Linked DNA regions of Homo sapiens: region 1 is linked to region 2. The links are contacts of gene promoters, found by promoter capture Hi-C in blood cells and fetal thymus (Javierre and others, 2016). All regions are on one chromosome and are shown on one strand. The core of a region is centred on a gene start or on the middle of the fragment in contact, and the rest is flanking DNA. Distances in the headings are between cores, read along the strand shown.

Region 1 (4,426 bases), core at 513-3,012, 200 kb before region 2:
CGCGGCCGCTGCCGCACTCGCGGAGGCTGGCCGGCGCCGGGTGCGCATAGGCCGGCGGGGCGCACGGCTCGGGGCCGGGGCGCCGGGAGGGCAGGGCCGGTGGCGGAGGTGGCGGCGGCGGCGGCGGGAGCAGCTTCTGCGCCTCTTCGTGTGCACGGTTGCAGCGGTTGTCACGCTCCCCGGCGCGCGGGCGGCCCTTCCAGAGCAGGTGGCCCAGCTCGGCTACGCTGAGCAGCGCCGACAGCAGCCCCACCGCGAAATAGAAGAGCACGAAGACGGTCTTCTCGGTGGGCCGGCTCACGAAGCAGTCGACCGTGTGCGGGCAGGGCGGACCGGCGCACGCGAAGTGCGGGGCCACGCGGAAGCCGTAGAGCAGCGCCTGGCCGCCCAGGAAGGTCAGCTCGGCCAGCAGGCGCAGCGCCACGCTCAGCAGGTAGCAGCGGCGCGCGCGGCGGGCGCGCAGGGCGCACGGCGCGCACTGGGCCTCGGGCAGTCCGGGGGCGCACTGCGCCGCCGCCTCAGCGCCGCCCGCCTCCTTGCCTGCCCGGTGCATGGAGTAGACGACGAACAGCACCGGGGGCGCCGAGAGCAGCAGGATGTGGAAGAGCCAGAAGCGGTAGTGGGAGACCGGGAAGGCGCGGTCGTAGCAGGTCTGGCGACAGCCCGGCTGCAGCGTGTTGCACACGAACTCCTCTTGCTCGTCCTCGAACACGGCGCCGCCCACCGTGGCCAGCACCAGGATGCGGAAGATCAGCATGACCACCAGCCAGAGGCGGCCCACGAGCGGCGACTGCAGCTGCACGGCGTCCAGCAGCGAGCCCAGGAACGCCCACTCCCCCATGGCGCTGGGGACGCGGGGCGGGGAGTCAGGGGATGGGGCAAGTCAGGGACCCCTGCCCCTTCCAAGCCTATCGGGGTGGGGTCCGTTGGACCTTCTCTGACTTCAGGGTGAGTCGTGAGGTAGGAGAGGCCCGGGTTTAGCGATGAGACCAGTATGAAACGGAGGGCCACGGGAGGGCCCGAGGGGAGCAGGCGACGCTCAGCTATGGGTTACCTTCTCTTTGGGACCGATGGGTGCTGGGGAGGATCCCCCATTTGCATTTTAGCCGCACCCCCTGAGCCGTCTCCGTTCGACCCTGGGATCCTCCAGATCCCAGATTCTTAGGAAGGACCTTGGAGATCAGCTGGACCAGCCCCTGACTTGCCTGGTTTCGGAAGCGGAAACCCAGCGGTGCCCTTAGCTGTCAAGGATGCTGTGGGAAGAGTGGAGCCTCGAACCCGAGACGCTAGACCCAATTTGGTGCCCATGGGAGGAGTGGGAGTGGCAGAGGCAGCGAGACCACTCCTTTCTTGGCCCACCATTTCTCTCACCATTTTTACTGCAGTGAACTCCTCTCAGGGTGGGGGGCTGGTACAGAGGCAACTCCGCTTTCATAACTCTCACAGGGTCCTTTGTCGGAGGTGTCCCTGCCCTCCTACCCCAGCGTGGTGGGAGTGCGACGCCAGGCTTCTCCCTCCTCCCTGGCCTCCTGTGCCTCCAGCCTCCACATCTCCTGAGATCCTCCCCACCCCACACTTACACAGGTCCCCACACGCCCCTGGTGCCCCTAAACCGCCACCCAACCCCACTCACCCTGGGGCCGGGACTGGGGTGTCAGAGCTGAGCCAGGGACCTTGGGAGGTGGCTGGGACCGGCGCCTCCTGCTCCCTCTTTCATTTTCCCTTTCGGATTTGGCCAGGATGGAGGACAGGACAGGATGGCTGAGAGGGGCTAGCGCTCCCCCTTCTCTTAAAGGAACAGGGTGACCCTGCTGGCTGGCTCCGCCCTTGGGAACAGGCACGGACCACGCCCCTTGCTGGGCTCTGTGGCCCTCACTCTTTAGCTAAATTTCCATCTGGAAATGGGGGAGGGGGGTAACCAGAGCCACATCCTTTATCGAGGAAGCTGGGGGATTCCTAGAAGCCCTTCCCAGACAGACCCTCAGTCTGGAGCCTAGATCCACTACGCACTAACCATGCCCTGTGAAGATGGTCTTCGGGGACAGAGGGAGGTTTGGTGCTGGAGTTTAAGGGGCAGCAAACATCTAACAGCTTCTGGTTCCAGCTCTGCCACCGCTCACCTTGGACAAATCATTCGGCGGTACTGAGCCAGGCTTTCCTGCCTTGTCAACAAAGGCGGCCAGTCCAGCTGACCCCCAAGTTTCCTTCCAGCTTTACATCTTTTTTGGAACGGGGTCTCTCTACATAGCCCAGGTCGATCTTGAACTCCTGGCTTCAAGTGATCCTCACACCTTAGCCTCCTGAGTAGCTGGGATTCTCTACTTCTTAATATTGAATTCCCAACCATATTACAGAGAACCAAAAAAACCCTTGTGCCTGCAAAAAAAAAAAAAAAAAAAAAAATCCCATATGGAAAACCATTAAAATATCCCAAGTGCCTGGCTTTGATAGTTAAATAAAATCTTTGGTTTCCTTCCCACTTTTCTGTTATTTCCAGCTTTACTATAATGAACATGTTATTTATTTATTTATTTTTAATTTGTTTGTTTTGAGATGGAGTCTAGCTCTGTCGCCCAGGCTGGAGTGCAGTGGCATGATCTTGGCTGAATGCAACCTCCGCCTCCCGGGTTCAAGCGATTCTCCTGCCTCAGCCTCCCCAGTAGCTGGGATTACAGGTGTGCGCCACCACGCCCGGCTAATTTTTGTATTTTTAGTAGAGGTGGGGTTTCGCCATGTTGACCAGGCTGATCTCGAACTCTTGACCTCAAACAATCCGCCTATCTCAGCCTCCCAAAGTGCCGGGATTACAGGCGTGAGCTACCACACCCGGCCTAACATGTTATTTTATTATTTATTTATTTATTTATTTATTGAGACAGAGTTTTGCTCTTGTTGCCCAGGCTGGAGTGCAGTGGTGTGATCTCAGCTCACCGCAACCTCCTCCTCCCGGGTTCAAGCGATTCTCCTGCCTCAGCCTCCTGAATAGCTGGGATTACAGGCATGTGCCACCATGCCCAGCTAATTTTGTATTTTTAATAGAGACAGGATCTCTCCATGTTGGTCAGGCTGGTCTCGAAATCCTGACCTCAGGTGATCCACCTGCCTCGGCCTCCCAAAGTGCTGGGATTACAGGCTTGAGTCACCGCGCCCGGCCTCATGTTATTTTATAATGTGAAAAATAGGACTTTTTCCCCCCAGAAGGCTCTGAATTGAGAGTTCCCTCCTACTGCCCTGGGTGGCGGGGGAAGCTGTTTTATGGAGAAGGGAGTAAGGGTGACCGACGGTGATCTGAGTGGTCAGGGAGGGGACACTCCAGGCTGAGATGTTTGGTTGTCTGCTCTGCCTTCCTAGGGGTCCGCCTGAGTGCATAGCAAAACCCGCTTCACCTATGCACCTGCTGGGCCAGTCCCCGTGTGGAACCCCGTTAGCTCCATATGCCAATGAGCTCATTCGATTCTCTGTCAATGGTGGCATGAGGGCACTATTTACACCAGGGGAAACTGAGACTCAGAGGGTCTAAGCCACTTGCCTGCTGTCGCGCAGCCGGTAAATAGCAGATCCAGGCCTATGCGAGGCCCAACTAGTTCTTGAGCCCAAGCTCTTGAGCCTTTCATGGAACTGTCCTCCATCCAGCCTGGCTGGGCTTCCCAGGTGCTGTCCCAGGGCCTGACAGTCCCCAGGAGGGGTTGCCTCTATGCCAGCCTTGTGTGGGGCTGGTGGGTGCAGGCACTGGAGGGAGGTCATGCCTGCCCCTCTGAAGAAGGGCAGCAGGACTCACCTCCTTGGTCACAGTTCCTCTCCCTATCAGCCATGGGTGCCTGTGTGGTTTTCCATATGCTGACGCAGACCCCCAGGTCCACTTTCAGGAAGGGGAAGGCACGTACCCTTCACCCACCACTCCCTCCAGCTCAGGGGCCCAGCCCCCGCAGGAAAAACTCTAGGTAAACTCCTGCTTGTGTGTGTTGGGGAACCCTCCTGCCCTCGTGCAGGCTTCCCTTGGGAGTGGGCCTGGGTGGGGGACGCTGCCCTGGAGAAAGTCCAAGGGAAAAAGCACATGCTGGAGCCCCAGATTCTGAAAACAGGATGTGGGTTGGGGGCGCTGCTGGCCTCACCCTCCCGACCTCCCTCTGCCCCTGGCAAAGCTGCTACCGGCCCCCTGCCCCCAGCCACAGGGGCTCAGGGTCACATCTCATCTCCCTTGACTGTCCAGGAATGGTCCCCACCCCGTCCTGTCCCGTGGCTCCTGCTGGGTCAGGCCATTGGCGCCACCTGGAAAAAGCCCATCAGCCCTGCGGGAATGGAAAGCAGCTGAGGCGGTGGGCCAGGGTGGGGTGGGAAGTGGAGAGCCTACAGTCACCCTGTGCTGTCTGCAGCCTGTGATGCCACAGGGCCAGACCCAGAGACTCTACAATCTCAGGCCCGGTCC
Region 2 (3,819 bases), core at 122-2,621:
GTGGTGGAGGGGGTGCAGGGGAGTGGGATTTAAGGGTAGATTGGCTGGGAAATGAGGCATTTGGAAGAGATTTTCAAAAACTAAACTCTACGGAGTTCTTGATACGGTGTATTCATTCATTCCGCAGACATTTTCTCCTCACATCCTCAAAGCACCTGAACCTGCCTTTCAGGAGTTCACAGTCAGTGGGTGGGGTGACCACTTTAACCCTTTCACAGCTGTTTGCTGGGTCCAGATCCAGCGTTCAGGGCAGGCGGGAAAGTAAGAGATGAAATCAAGGAGGCTGTGGTGTGGCGAGGAGGGGTGTGAGGACAGCACCAGGGAACCTTCACTTTTTAAAGCCAACCCTTTGCGGCTTTGAGGCCGCCGTGGTGCATTGTTTGCTGGTGAGACAAGCCATCTAGGAACCTGGTCTTCTTAGCCTCAGCCTGGTCTGACTCCACAGCTGAGATTTATAAAGGGGGCGTCTGGAGCTGGATGAACCACTCAGAACACCCTCAGTGCTTCCCCTTGACCCCTTCTAGGTTAGACCTGAGAAAGGGCTTTCTAAAGAGTAGAGTTATCTGCCGGGGCAGAGTGCGTGAGGTTTGCTCAGGGGCAGGGGCTGTGCTGAAGGCCTGGCTATGATTTCTCCAAGCTGAGTGCCCCTTGCCATCCCATTCCATGTTGCCTGCCCGTTCCTTAACTTGCAAGAGGCAACAGCAAAGCCAGATCAAAGCAGGTGGGATGTGCAGCAGAGAGAAAGCAACCAGAGCTTGCATTTGCAATGCACCGCACCATTCTCACAACCCAGTCACGTTTCATTTGCATCTCCTCATGACCCCAAGTGGACAGGTATATGAATATTTGGCAGGGGAGAAAGGTGGGAATCAGAGAGTGGGTAAAAGGTCCTAAGCTCTCTAGGGAGAATTTCTCTGTTGAAACCTGTCCCCAGAGGTCCCAGAGGGCCTAACCTATCACCCTCATGATGAGAACAGGTTCTGCCAGACCACCAAGCCCAGCCCCGCCACTCTCTTATGTCCCTGCTGTTTTAGAAAGACATGATCTCGGCCCCTCCCTTGTCCCCACTGGCACCAAAGGCTGACCCCTTCTCCAGGTCTGAAAGGGCAGGTGCACCCCTCCTGGGACAGCAGGGGGCATTCTCTGGAAGTAGCTTCCAATGCCCACCAAATCAGAACTGATTTCTCCAGGAAGCACCCCTATGCGCTCCACCCGCATCCTCCACCCCCATTCCACAGGGTCAGTCTGGGTGTCCAAGACCCTGGTACTGTTCCTTCTCACATGAAGAGGCTCACTCACCCAGGTCCATGACGCTCTCTGGGCGGTAAAACCACACAGGAAGGCTGTGCCCGGCCTCGCACTACCCCTGTCTGGGGAGGAAGTGGTTCAAGCCCCTTTTAAGTTGTCGGAGAAGCCACCCTCTTCCCTGCCCCTCCCACCCTTGCTCCTCCCCCCAGCCCTCCCTGACTCATGCAGGGCCCCTTCAATGCCTTCAGAGATAAAGGGGCAGAAGAAAGGTGACAGAGGGTGACAGTCGCTGGTCATAGGATCCTGAATCATTAGGTCATTTACATTCAAAAAGCCCCCTGCGCTGCCTGGCAGAATCTAGATGAGGGGCCATTTACTGATTCAACAAATATTTATAGCATGAATATCACATGCCAGGCCATGGGTTAGATGTTGGGGAGTCAGAGATGTGTGAGAGAAGTGTCCCCATCCTTCCCTTGCTCTGCTCAGTGTCACAGTGGAATATAGTCCCAAATGGCTTTCCCTCTGGCTTCTGGGTAGTTTAGGCCAATGGGAGGCACTGACACATAATGACAGGTAAAAGGGAAGAGATATGCCACGATGTATCTTTTTTCTCCCCCCTTCCCCTCCCCTCCCCTCCCTCCCCTTTCCCTCTTCTCCCCTCCCTTCCTTTTCCTTTCTTAATGACAGCTTTATTGAGCTATAATCCACATCCCATAAAATTTACCTTTTTAAAGTATAGAATTCAATGGTTTTTGTATGTTCACAGAGTTATGCAACCATCACCACAATACATTTTAGAACATTTTTTCTCACTCCCTCTCAAGAACCCTGTAATCACTAGCAATGACTGCTCCCCTCCCCTCCTGTCATCGAAAGCCCCTGGCAACCACAAATCTACTTTCTGGCTCTATAGATTTTCCTATTCTGAACATTTCACATAAATAGAAGTATCAATATGTGACCTTCACATCTGGCTTCTTTCAGTTAGTGTTTTCAAGGTTACCTATGTGGTGGTATGGATCCATTCCCCATTCCTTTTTATGGCTGAATAACATTCCATTGTATGGATATGCCACATTTTGTTTGTCTGTCATCAGTTGGATGTTTGGGCTGTTTTCCCTTTTAGCTATTATGAATGATGCTGCTATAAATATTTATGTGCAAGTGTTTGTGTGGACATATGCTTTATTTCTCTTGGGTATATACCTAGAAGTGAAATTGTTGAGTCATATGGTAATTATATATTTAACATTTTGACGAACTATCAAACTGTTTTCCAAAGTGACTACACCATTTTGTTCCCATCAACAATGCGTGAGGGTTCCACATTGTCAACAAAACTTACTATTGTCCATTCTTTTGATTCTAGCCATCCTAGTGGCTGTAAAGTGGTATCTCATTGTGTTTTTTTTCTTTTTTCTTTTTTTTTTTTGGAGATGGAGTCTTACTCTGTTGCACAGGCTGGAGTGCAGTGGCACGATCTTGGCTTACTGCAGTCTCCACCTCCTGGGTTCAAGTGATTCTCCTGCCTCAGCCTCCCAAGTAGCTGGGACTACAGGCACGTGCCACCATGCCTGGCTAATTTTTGTATTTTTAGTAGAAACGGGGTTTCACCATGTTGGCCAAGCTGGTCTCAAACTCCTAACCTAAGGTGATCTGCCAGCCTCGGCCTCCCAAAGTGCTGGGATTGCAGGCATGAGCCACCATGCCCGGCCTCTTTGTAGTTTTGATATGCGTTTTCCTAATGACTACCTATGCTGAGCATCTTTTCATGCTCTTATTGACCATTTGTATTATTTTTTGAGAAATTTCTATTCAAATCCTTTGCCCATTTAAAAAATTGGGTTATTTATTTTTTATTATTGAGTTGTAAGACTTCTTTATATATTCTGGTTACAATCCCTTATCTGATACATATCTGTAAATATTTTCTCCCTTACTATGGATCATCTTTTCACTTTCTTGATAGCGTCCTTTGAAGCACAAAGGCTTTTTGTTTTTTAAAACCTGAATCTCTGGCAAAAGAAGCGCAAAGTTTTAAATGTGGAGGTTCAATTGATTTATTTTTCTTTTGTCAATTGTGTCTTTGGTGCCATATCTAAGAAACCATTGCATAATTCAAGTATACAAAGATTTATTCGTATATGTTCTTTTAAGACTTTTATAGTTTTAGCTGCAACATTTAGATCTGATCCATTTTGAGCTAATTGTTGCATATGGTGTGAGGTAGGGATCCAGCTTCATTTTTTATATGGATATCTAGTTTTCCCAGCATCATTTGTTGAAAAGACTATTTTTTCCACCATTGAACTGTCTTAGCACCTCTGTTGGAAATCAATTCATCATAAATGTAATGGTTTATTTCTAGACTATCAATTCTATTTTATCAATCTCTGTGTCTGTCCTATGACAGTACCACACTGTCTCGATTACTGTAGCTTTATAGCAAATTTTGAAATTGGGAGTTGTGACTGCTCCAACTTTATCTGTCTTTTTAAACATTGTTTGACTAATCTGCATCTCTCTCTTTTCCATATGAATTTTAGGTTATCAATTTCTGCAATGAAA

The links. Contacts are between HindIII fragments. The CHiCAGO score rates a contact against its expected background, and 5 or more counts as called.
Region 1: the fragment with the promoter of GJD3 here is called in contact with the fragment with the promoter of CCR7 in region 2 in 15 of 17 cell types (megakaryocytes, fetal thymus, erythroblasts and 12 more); the score reaches 16.3 in megakaryocytes.

What each region holds. Positions count from the first base shown.
Region 1 is chr17:40,362,975-40,367,400 of GRCh38, forward strand. It overlaps GJD3 (gap junction protein delta 3), which reads right to left and starts at 1,763. Exons shown (of 1, transcript NM_152219.4): 1 at 1-1,763. The coding sequence starts at 841. GJD3-AS1 (GJD3 antisense RNA 1) reads left to right here. Exons shown (of 1, transcript NR_186704.1): 1 at 1-2,461. RefSeq lists silencers at 1-74, 105-214. The HindIII fragment of the contact is 7,280 bases long and covers 1-4,426 here.
Region 2 is chr17:40,564,101-40,567,919 of GRCh38, forward strand. It overlaps CCR7 (C-C motif chemokine receptor 7), which reads right to left and starts at 1,372. Exons shown (of 3, transcript NM_001838.4): 1 at 1,300-1,372. The coding sequence starts at 1,309. RefSeq lists an enhancer at 11-927. The HindIII fragment of the contact is 7,070 bases long and covers 1-3,819 here.